2 separate regions of the Homo sapiens genome follow, and region 1 is linked to region 2. The links are contacts of gene promoters, found by promoter capture Hi-C in human tissues and cell types (Jung and others, 2019). All regions are on one chromosome and are shown on one strand. The core of a region is centred on a gene start or on the middle of the fragment in contact, and the rest is flanking DNA. Distances in the headings are between cores, read along the strand shown.

Region 1 (4,795 bases), core at 231-2,730, 120 kb before region 2:
ACCATTGTCATCCCAGGGTGACTGTGAAAAAAAAACAGTGCTGTGCTTCCCTACAGAGCAACCTCAGAGGCTTCACAGTATAGGAGAAAATAGATTTCACAAAAATAATATGGCCAGTTACTAAAAAAAAAAAAAAAAATAAACAAATAATAATTAGCCCCAAAGGGGAAAAGAGGACCAATATCTAGAGTTGCTAAAAATATATTATCTAAAATGTGCAGTTTCCAATAAAAAATTTCGAGGCCTGACAAAAAATAAGAAAGTATGACTCATAAAAGACCTAAAACAGACAACAGAAACTGCCTGTGACAGTGACCTGCTGTTAGATCGAACAGAAAAACATTTCAAAGTAGCCCTCATCAATATGTTCACAGGTCAAAAGAAAGCATGAGTAAAGAAGTCAAGGAATGTGTGATGGCAATGTCATATCAAATAGAAAATCTCTATACAGAGATTTAAACATTGCAAAACAGAACAAAATTCTGGAATAAAAAAGTACAAGAAGTTAAATTGAAAAATTCACTGGACAGACTCAACAGCAGATTTGAATTGGCAAAAGAATTAGCAAACTTTAAGGTAGATCAGTTGAGATTATATAGCTGAAGAACAGAGGGGAGAAAAGAATGAAGAAAAACTAACAGCACCTCAGAAAAATATTGGAACACCATTAAGTGCACTATCATACACATAACGAAAGTGCCAGGAGGACAGGAGAGAGAGAAAGATGAAAAAATATTAGAAATCATGATGACTGCAAACTTCCCATATTTATTAGAAAATAATAAAATACATGTCCAGAATGTCCTAGTGCATTTCCAGAAAGCACATAGGATAAGTGCAAAGATACTCACAAACAGACACAGCATAGAAAAATCCTAAATGTCTAAACATGAAGGAAATCTTGAAAGTCAAAAGAGGAAAATGGCATGTTCTTTACAAGGAAACCCCAATAGGCTTAACAACTGACTTCTCTGAAGAAACAAGAGAGGCCAGAAGACAGTGGGATAATATATTCAAAGGGCTCAAAGTAAAAAATAGTGAACCAAAAATTATATATCCAGTAATGCTATCTTTCAAAAATGAAGGCAAAGTAGAGTTTCCCAGACAAACAAAAAATTGAAAGAATTTGTTGCTAGCAGGCCCTCCTTATAAGAAATACAAAAGGAATTCTTCAGGCTGAAGATGATAACAGAAAGTAATTCAAATTCACACAAAGAGCACCAATAAACGTAATATTGCGTGACTCTAAATGATAATTTCAATACATATTTTTCTCTTTTCTTCTCTCAGTTGATTTAAAAGCAACTGCATAAAATTATATCTATATACTAAGAGAGAGCAAGAGAGAAAATTGTTAGGCTTATAACGTATAAAAGCATAATACATGTAAAATATATTTGCCAATAACAGTACAAAAGAAGTGAATGGGAGCAAAGTTGTAATGGTCTAAGAAATGACTACAGAGGATGAAGTAATAACTAGAAAGAAAAAGAGAGAGAAAGAAAAGAAGGAAGAGGGAAGGAAGGGAGGGAGGGAGGGAAAGGGAAATGGAAGAGATGGGAAGGGAAGGGAAGAAATAAAGGAAAAACATTGCCCATGCCTGCTTCATCTAAGTTAATAATGCCAGCCCTTATCTTTCTTAGCAGACACTTGCTAAGTTCCTGATGCCCCTCTTCTGCATGCTGAACCCCTGAAACAATCCTGATGCTGTGGACAGTATAACGGGAAGGACAAGCCCACTTGCTGCCAGGCCTTCCTAGAATCTCTTTGTCTCCCAGTTATGGCTTGCCTGCCCTATTTGCCCTACACTATCGGCCAAACACTAATTATGGGTTCCTGCCTCTACTTTCCCTGCCTAACACTGCAGTTTAGAATCCTATTTGGAATCAAAAATCTTTCCCAAATTCCATCTGCTTGGCTAAGCCTCATTACTATTCTTAATATTTCCCTCTAGAGGGTAGACCTTGCTCCCTATAATTTAGTTGTCTTCTTACTTTGCAGGAACCTGTTGAGAAGGGAGCTTTAAACCGCTATAGTGTTACCACTTGCTTAGTGACAATTTTTGAATGTTGTCTACCATCTGCCCCCACAACTATGACCACCCTTCAACACACACACACACACACACACACACACACTCTCAGTGTTGAATTTCCTTAGATACTTTGGACACTAAAACCTGCAAGAAGCAAGCCAGGGTCTGCTTTGACCTTTCTGACATGTCCCTCAAGCCCTAGAGCTGGGGTATTTTCCCAGCCCCTGCCTACATGAACCTGTGGATATTAGCATGGTTTTGTGACTTTGTTTTTGTTTTGCCTAAATGTGCCTGAATTTTAACAGTGAATACATTAAACTGTTTTCTCAGTATTAATCTCAGAGCTGATGAACGTGAGTGGCTTATAAGCTTCTCTAGTAAGTAAATTTATAATATAATTTTTTGTATCCTCACTCTCAAGATTTTGCTGATTTATTATTTTTGCTGATCATAGGTGTGCTTGCTGCAAGCTACATAGCTCTCCCCTTCCCTATCCCCTGCTCTCTTTCTTGCCAAAAGCAAAGGAACAGATTTTATAATCTACCTTGGACAGAAAATCAGGAGAACCAAGATGATAGAATAGAACTCAAAGTCAGAAGAAATACACTCTAATGAGAGTCTTGAAAAATTAATGAGCTTTAGTGTAAGGATTCTGTGATGTCTGTTTTTGCATAAGGATTTAAAGTAAAAATATTGTGTGGGTGTGTGTTTAGTCATCTATGTTTTGTGTACTTAAGGTTCTAAGATAAGTGGCTTCTGGTCATTAAAGAATTATTGAGCTAACTTTTTGAAAAAAGACTGAGAAAATATTTCAAGAAAGTTTAACTTTTAGCAGATCATTTTATTTCCAAGTCTAATTTTGTATCTGAGCTACTTCAAGTCTATAGTCAGCGAAATGACCAGTAAACTGGGAAGAAAACTAAGGTTCTAATCGGGTTTTTCCTGAGCCAGGAAACCTAGAGTGTTTAATAGCTCTCCATCCACAGGGATAAAGAGCTTTTCATTTCAAACATTCTATTAACTTATTTAATTTTATTATTATAGTTTCAATTTTGAGAAATTAGATCACATATTTAAAATTCTATCCCTTCTAGGTGGGAAAGATAATTTTTTGTGTAATTTTACAGTATCATAGACATTTTTTCAGAGGTAAAATATCCATGACCTTACAGCCTTTTCTTAAATCTAAACACTAAGTGCTAATATGGGGAATGTCCTTTAATCTTATTGATAACAGTAGTTCAGTGTTATGAAAATGACAAAGTACATCTCAATTTTTAGGGGTCAAAGTTAGGTTTATAATATTAGTTTATATATGTTGTTTGGTCAAAAAATAATAATAAAATCAAACTCCTGTTTCTAAGAGAGCTTTGGAAATAGTCCGTGTGTTATAAAAATCAGATACTCAAGTTTCCTCTGGGTGTATCTAGATTAATAAGTGTTAGATTTGCTTTCTTTATTTTTATTTTTTTGGTTTTTCAAATTTGAAGACAGTTGTGATTAAAACATACAATTGTATTATGAATCCACATTCATACGTAGTCATATAATTATTTTGTACATTGAACCTTCATTGCAGGTGCTAATTGGTAGCTACTAATTTCCTTTGTTAACTTGGATTCAAGCCCATAAATCTCGATGCATTTAACCTATATTCTTTCATTTGCAGAATAAAAATAACAATATTTCATGACTTACATGACTTGATAGTCATCACAAAACAATGACTGTGTCAGTAAATCAATAATAACTCCATACAAGTATTGCAATTCTCAATTGAAAAGACTGAGTGAAAGGTGTGATTTTTCAAAAGACATGTTTTCTGCTAAAACTAACAGTAGTGTCAAATGTTTTAGAAATTTTTGTAATGCAGATAATGAAACTGCGATGAATTCAACTAGAAATACCAAACTCATTTCAAATAGCTGGCTCATTCTTAAGAGTCACATTCCTCACTTTGCACTTTGCATTCTCCACATGAATACTGCAAAAGAAACACTTAACACGCCCTGATGAATATAACAATTATAACACAAAAGAGATCATTAATGCATCGGAACAGAAGAGTATGGTCTGTTAGCGTCTAATTAGGCTTCTGCTGTAATTATCTTCCATTTGATAAATTTTCTTCAAGTAAAAATGATAAAACAAATCATGGGTATTCGCTTAGTTTAATTAGTTAGCAACACTAAGACAAATTTAGTTTAATCTGTACCCTTTTATGTACTTTTTTCTAAAGATCTTAACTATAGGAAAGCTGAATATTTTAATGGTTTAAGTCTTTCACAATACCCACATCATAAAATCTTTCCTACACACCCTTACCTCCTATCCCAAACAAATTCAAACACTGTGCATGGTTATATATATTGAAACATTATCAAGGAGAGAGGGGATTAAGGAAACATTGTGTGACTGGATTTAGAGAATAAATGGGGGGGGGGGGAGAAAGGAGAAGAAAAGGAGAAAGGAGGAAGAGAGGAGTGGGGAGAAGAACAGATACTGAGAAGGAAAGAAAGAGAAGAAAAGGAGAGTGGAGGAAAGGCGAAAGTAAGGGAGGAGAAGGGAGGAAAGGAGAGGAGATTTAAATAAAGAAAGGAGGCATGAGAAAAAGAAGAGTTAATGAGATGACTGGAAGGAAGAGAATCAGGAACACAAAGATTGTTTTGCATTCATATCACTCATTGGTGTCCAAGCCTGATTTTAAAAAATTATCTCTCTAGCTATCTTGCTACTTGACCTACTTACCTACCTACCTAT
Region 2 (4,709 bases), core at 1,825-4,324:
TTTTATGTTAAGAATATTTTTATTCCCTTAGTTAAAAAAAATTTAAAAAAAATACCTTCTTCAAACAATTATTTGAGTGCATACTTTCCTCTTACACCTACTCCATACCAAAGACCAAATGAAATGTGTGGGAAGGGAGCGTATATTTTGTGTTGGAGAGGTTTGGGGAGAAAGATTGTTCTGTTTTGTCCAAGCTCGAAATGATAGGATCCTGAAAGGCCTGTTAATCTATTGTCCCAGATTAATCTGCTTAAATACAGGCCCTTGAATACTGAAATTATTTAGTGTAAAGTGTACTTTATGAAATTATATGCACAAAAGCATTTAGTCTGAAATACTGCCAGAATCTACAGCCTCGTATTTCTCGTGAATATTTACCCTCTAACCCCATCCCTAAATTAACTTGTTCTCTGTCTTTATTATTCCCTATTTTTTTGTTTGTTTGTTTGTTTTGTTTTGTTGTTTTTGAGACATGGTCTCACTCTGTTGTCCAGGCCAGAGTACAGTGGCACAATCATGGCTCACTGTAGCCTTGACCTCCCTGGGCTCAGGTGATCCTCCTACCTCAGCCTCTTGAGTAGCTAGGACCACAGGCACACACCAACAGGCTTGGCTAATTTTTTGCAGAGATGGAGTTTCGCCATGTTGTCCAGGCTGGTCTGAGACTCCTGGGCTCAAGTGATCCTCCCGCCTTGGCCTCCCAAAGTGCTGGGATTACAGGTGAGCGACATCGCAACCGGCCTCATTCACTCTTCTGACTCCTTCAAGCTCTGTCATTCCATTCGAATGTGTGTAACCTACTGCTCAGGTGTAAATACCTCTCAGGTAGAGTCTCCACATGCTGCTTTCATGCCACCCTTGCCCTTGTCCTCCCAAACCAGCATCTGCTGGTGGGTGCACTTCTATCTCAAAGAGGGAAAGGAAGAGAACTAAGAGCTCATGTTTGCTTTTGGTGTCTAGATGTTCCACGGGACTCATTATTTGATAATTATCTTTTTACGTGTCTGACACCACATCTCCCATAAACTCAGTGAGGAAGGAGCACAGCCTCAGGATTCAAACCTTAACATACATGCATTCAGCATTCATTTATCCAGCAAATACAGAATGCTTAGTTGCTTTCCATATATTATCTCAACTAGTTGTACCAACAACACTTCAAAGGAAACATTAGTATCCTTATATCACGAATGAGGAAAGCTGAGACTTTGGTCAAACCACTTGTTTAAGAACAGCTGATAAAAGGCAGTGCCATGAATCATATCCAGATTGGGTTTACTCTAAAATCAGATGCTTGTGTATCGCCTTAGTCTATTTGGTGATAATTCCTGCTATATCTCCTTTCCACCTCTTGTTTGCACCTTCTCAAGCTACCTCTTTTCTCTCTCTTGCAAATATTTCCTTACTGCTTTCTTCCACTCCCTTGGACTCAGTGGTTAAAATGGGAAATGGGGTTCTTTAATCTACTAGAATCATTTCTGGGATACTAATTTTCCACCTTCTTCCCAATTCCCATTATTTGAAGTCTAGCTATATTATCTTAAAATTTTCAATACTGTTGTCTTTCATTTCTCCCAACCGAATGGCAATTTTATTTTAGCATCTGATTTACTTTCTTCTGTACCTTGTTCTCAACAATTTAATAAAGCATAAGAATGACTCTTTAGATTCCCCAAACTCTGTTTTTCAGACTTCTTGCCTTAACAGAACTTAATAGAACTGTCTGCCTATTCCTTATCACTCAGTAACAGCATTGTCACACCCTGGATTCCAATTTAGAAATCTCACAATTCTTATTATCTCTCAAATCACATTGCATCCACCAAAACGATATGTCCTACAACACCACTGTTCAGCCATTTTCTCTTAAAACTCTTTTGGCTTCTAAAAGTGAAGCATCACTTTATTTTTCTCTATCCCATTTGTCATAAGATTAAGGACTCTGAACCTATACATAAAATAATATTAAAGCCACTGGAGGCGATACATGCAAGGGCTTGGGATAAATCCAGCTTCCGTGTGAATATTTCTTCTGTAATGTGTTAATTAATTTGTTCTATAGGATGTTAAAAGGGTTTCTTTCTCACAAGCAAGGAACTCTAGATGCCCATTTCTCTGAATCTGTGCTAGCTGGGCACCCCTAGGGGGCGCTCCGTCTCTCAAAATACAAGGGGCTGACAGCAGCGTGCCTCTGGGTGAGGCTCACTCTAGGGGTGTGGCCTCACGGAGAACCTCAACCCACAAGAGTTTGGCTTAGAAACAAGTTTGAAAACCTCTTCAGGTCCAGAGCCTTTAAATAATGCCTGCTATGCGCTAAGACAGCCCTGGGTATCCAGAGTTCACAAAGCAAGGACTGATTTCCTTTCGCCTTGACAGCCTCAGCAAAAGTGGAAGGGGGTTTGCAGAATTGCACTATTAGCAGCGTCCACCCGAAGGTCTGCACAGAATTAGACTGAGCTGATTCTGGACAAAGCCCACTGTGTACCTTTATCTACTGGGCAAAAGTTACCCCCAACACCTGCTATAATCGACTCATTTTAGGAGCAAAATGTCAGGCCATGAAGCATCAGATCATTGAAAGACCCAATTAATTAGTCCAGGAAAGGAGTAATAAGAACATCTGTGATCTGAGTTCCATACTAAGACACAGAGAGACGACTGAGTTATTCTGGTGCTTGCTGTCTGAGGTCCAGACAGTACTTGTGACCCTCTTATCCTCAGAAGAGTAACCACAATTCCCTGGAGTGAAGAATATCCCAATTCACTCATGGAGTTCACTTTAGTCTCATTCTCGACCTTTGTCACCAATTGGCTAAGGCTATTTGTTTTTCCAATTCTGTATTAGGAAAAAGAAGTTGCACAGAGGATCAGACATCAGATACGTTTCTAAATTCTGCAGCTCTGGGTGGGCAGCCTCATTTGGGGAAATGCTAGCTGCTGTTTCCAAAGTGGGGAAGCCCACGGTTTCGGACACAGGGCTGACAGCGCTGCTCCAGCAGCCCCCAGGGCCAGAGGAACCCGGCCTTAGCTCCGCCCCGCTCTGCCCGGCCCCGGGTGGCTGCGATGCCGAGGTCCTCTGCTCCCGCCGGGCGTGCAGCGGGCGCGCGCGCGTGTGTTTATGTGTCTGTGTGCGTGTGTGTGTGTGTCTCTCTCTGTGTGTGTGTGAGATGAATTGGAGTCATACGACTGGGTGTTTCCTTCCGAGTGGTTTTCATCAGCAATCCATTAGGAAATCATGGAAACTTTTTTTTTCCTGGCTAAAAGGATGAAAACTGAGTAAGTACATAGAACTTTGAACTTGAGACGGAATGAAACAAATTCAAGCAAAAACCCTGACAGTAACCATGTCCATTCAAATTGCGTATGCCCTTTTTATGTTAAAAGCCGTGAATACTTACAGGACAGTGGGAATTTAAAACTAAATGAAGGGAAGCATACAAAAGGCTGAAAGCAAGACTGCTTTAAAACCGGAGGAAAATTGAGGAACTGCTAAGGCAACCTGGCCTGAGTTCAGCTGTGCAACAGGCACTTTGGGTTTTAATCTTTTGCGTTCTTCAATGCTGTTTTCAGACTCCAGATATACTTTGGTATTGTTTTCTCTCTTCCTGCAAAGCTGAGGCAGAGTCGGACTCCTTTACTGTGAGTTGAAAGATGTGAGAATAAGGCATTGCTGGAAGCAACAGTTTGGCAGCCTGGGGTACACTCAGGTTATTCGTTACAACTATTATTATTTGATGTCTTTTTTTAAACTCAGGTCATCCACTTTTGACTGTCATCCATGGAAGAGCTCTTATTAAAAGCCTCAGACTTTCGGGACCTATGATTCTTTGGCACAACCTTTTGGAAAATTCTTAAGCAGGGATGAAGCAAACTTGATTGGAGTTGGGGAAAAAGAAGACAGATTAGTATTTTTCATGCTGACAAAAAATAGCTGCTATGACTTTTCCCGCAACGTGGACAGGGGCCAAGTGAAGCTGAACTGGTCATGGTCTGTCGCCCAGTGTTCCCTTGTCGTCGGCGATTTTGCCCCCGACCCTTCTTGGTGGGCTTAGTGGTGGCAATCTGTCTCTTCTACCAGACTCTGACCCTCCGAGGGTCGAGGAAGCTCACAGCCGCTGCCCCTGGGGCTGTCCCACACACATCCACTGAAACCCAGGCAAGCAGATGCAAGAAAGGATTCTCTCAGGACAAACAGTGCTTCCTTCTCTCTGGTAATGCCCAGGAAACCAGAAAGGTAAGACTCTCATAAGCTTAACGGAGACAGTTTCTGCAAAGACAGCAATCTGCTTCTCTGTCCTTTCTATAAAACTAAAATTAACTTCCATGAGGTCTGAAAGGGATCCAGAGTGTAAACAGCCTAGAGAGTGACCTGATGACTGGGAAACACGTTACATAAGCTTCAACTTCTTATAGTTACTTCCAGAAAGTTCTGGCATTACTTTATCTCTTAGGATTTCACTTCATTTCAGTGGAATGAAGTAGACAGTTTGGAGGAGGCATAAAATGATGTGGATTCTTTCTAAAATATCAGTATTCTAAGAGATCTGAGGATTTACAATTCAAAAACATAAATCAAAGTTTCAAAAACTTTGATAAACCTTGAGTGTCTCTTTTCTCAAGGCAGTCAGTATGAGTGCCCAGACCATTCCAGACTCAAAGATTCTCCAAAGTTTCATTTTGTAACTAGCTAGATTGATTCTTAATTGGTG

What was found. Contacts are between HindIII fragments. The study calls those that stand out against the background at their distance.
Region 1: a fragment that was not itself captured here is called in contact with the fragment with the promoter of CPED1 in region 2 in 2 of the 25 tissues and cell types used here (bladder and small bowel).

What each region holds. Positions count from the first base shown.
Region 1 is chr7:120,869,626-120,874,420 of GRCh38, forward strand. All of the region lies in intron 1 of LOC124901733 (a long non-coding RNA gene), which reads left to right. Among named protein-coding and RNA genes, the nearest start is that of TSPAN12, 14 kb to the left of the region's middle. The HindIII fragment of the contact is 6,134 bases long and covers 1-4,547 here.
Region 2 is chr7:120,985,637-120,990,345 of GRCh38, forward strand. It overlaps CPED1 (cadherin like and PC-esterase domain containing 1), which reads left to right and starts at 3,075. Exons shown (of 23, transcript NM_024913.5): 1 at 3,075-3,276; 2 at 3,755-4,234. The coding sequence starts at 3,986. RefSeq lists an enhancer at 2,251-2,330. The HindIII fragment of the contact is 8,627 bases long and covers 1-4,709 here.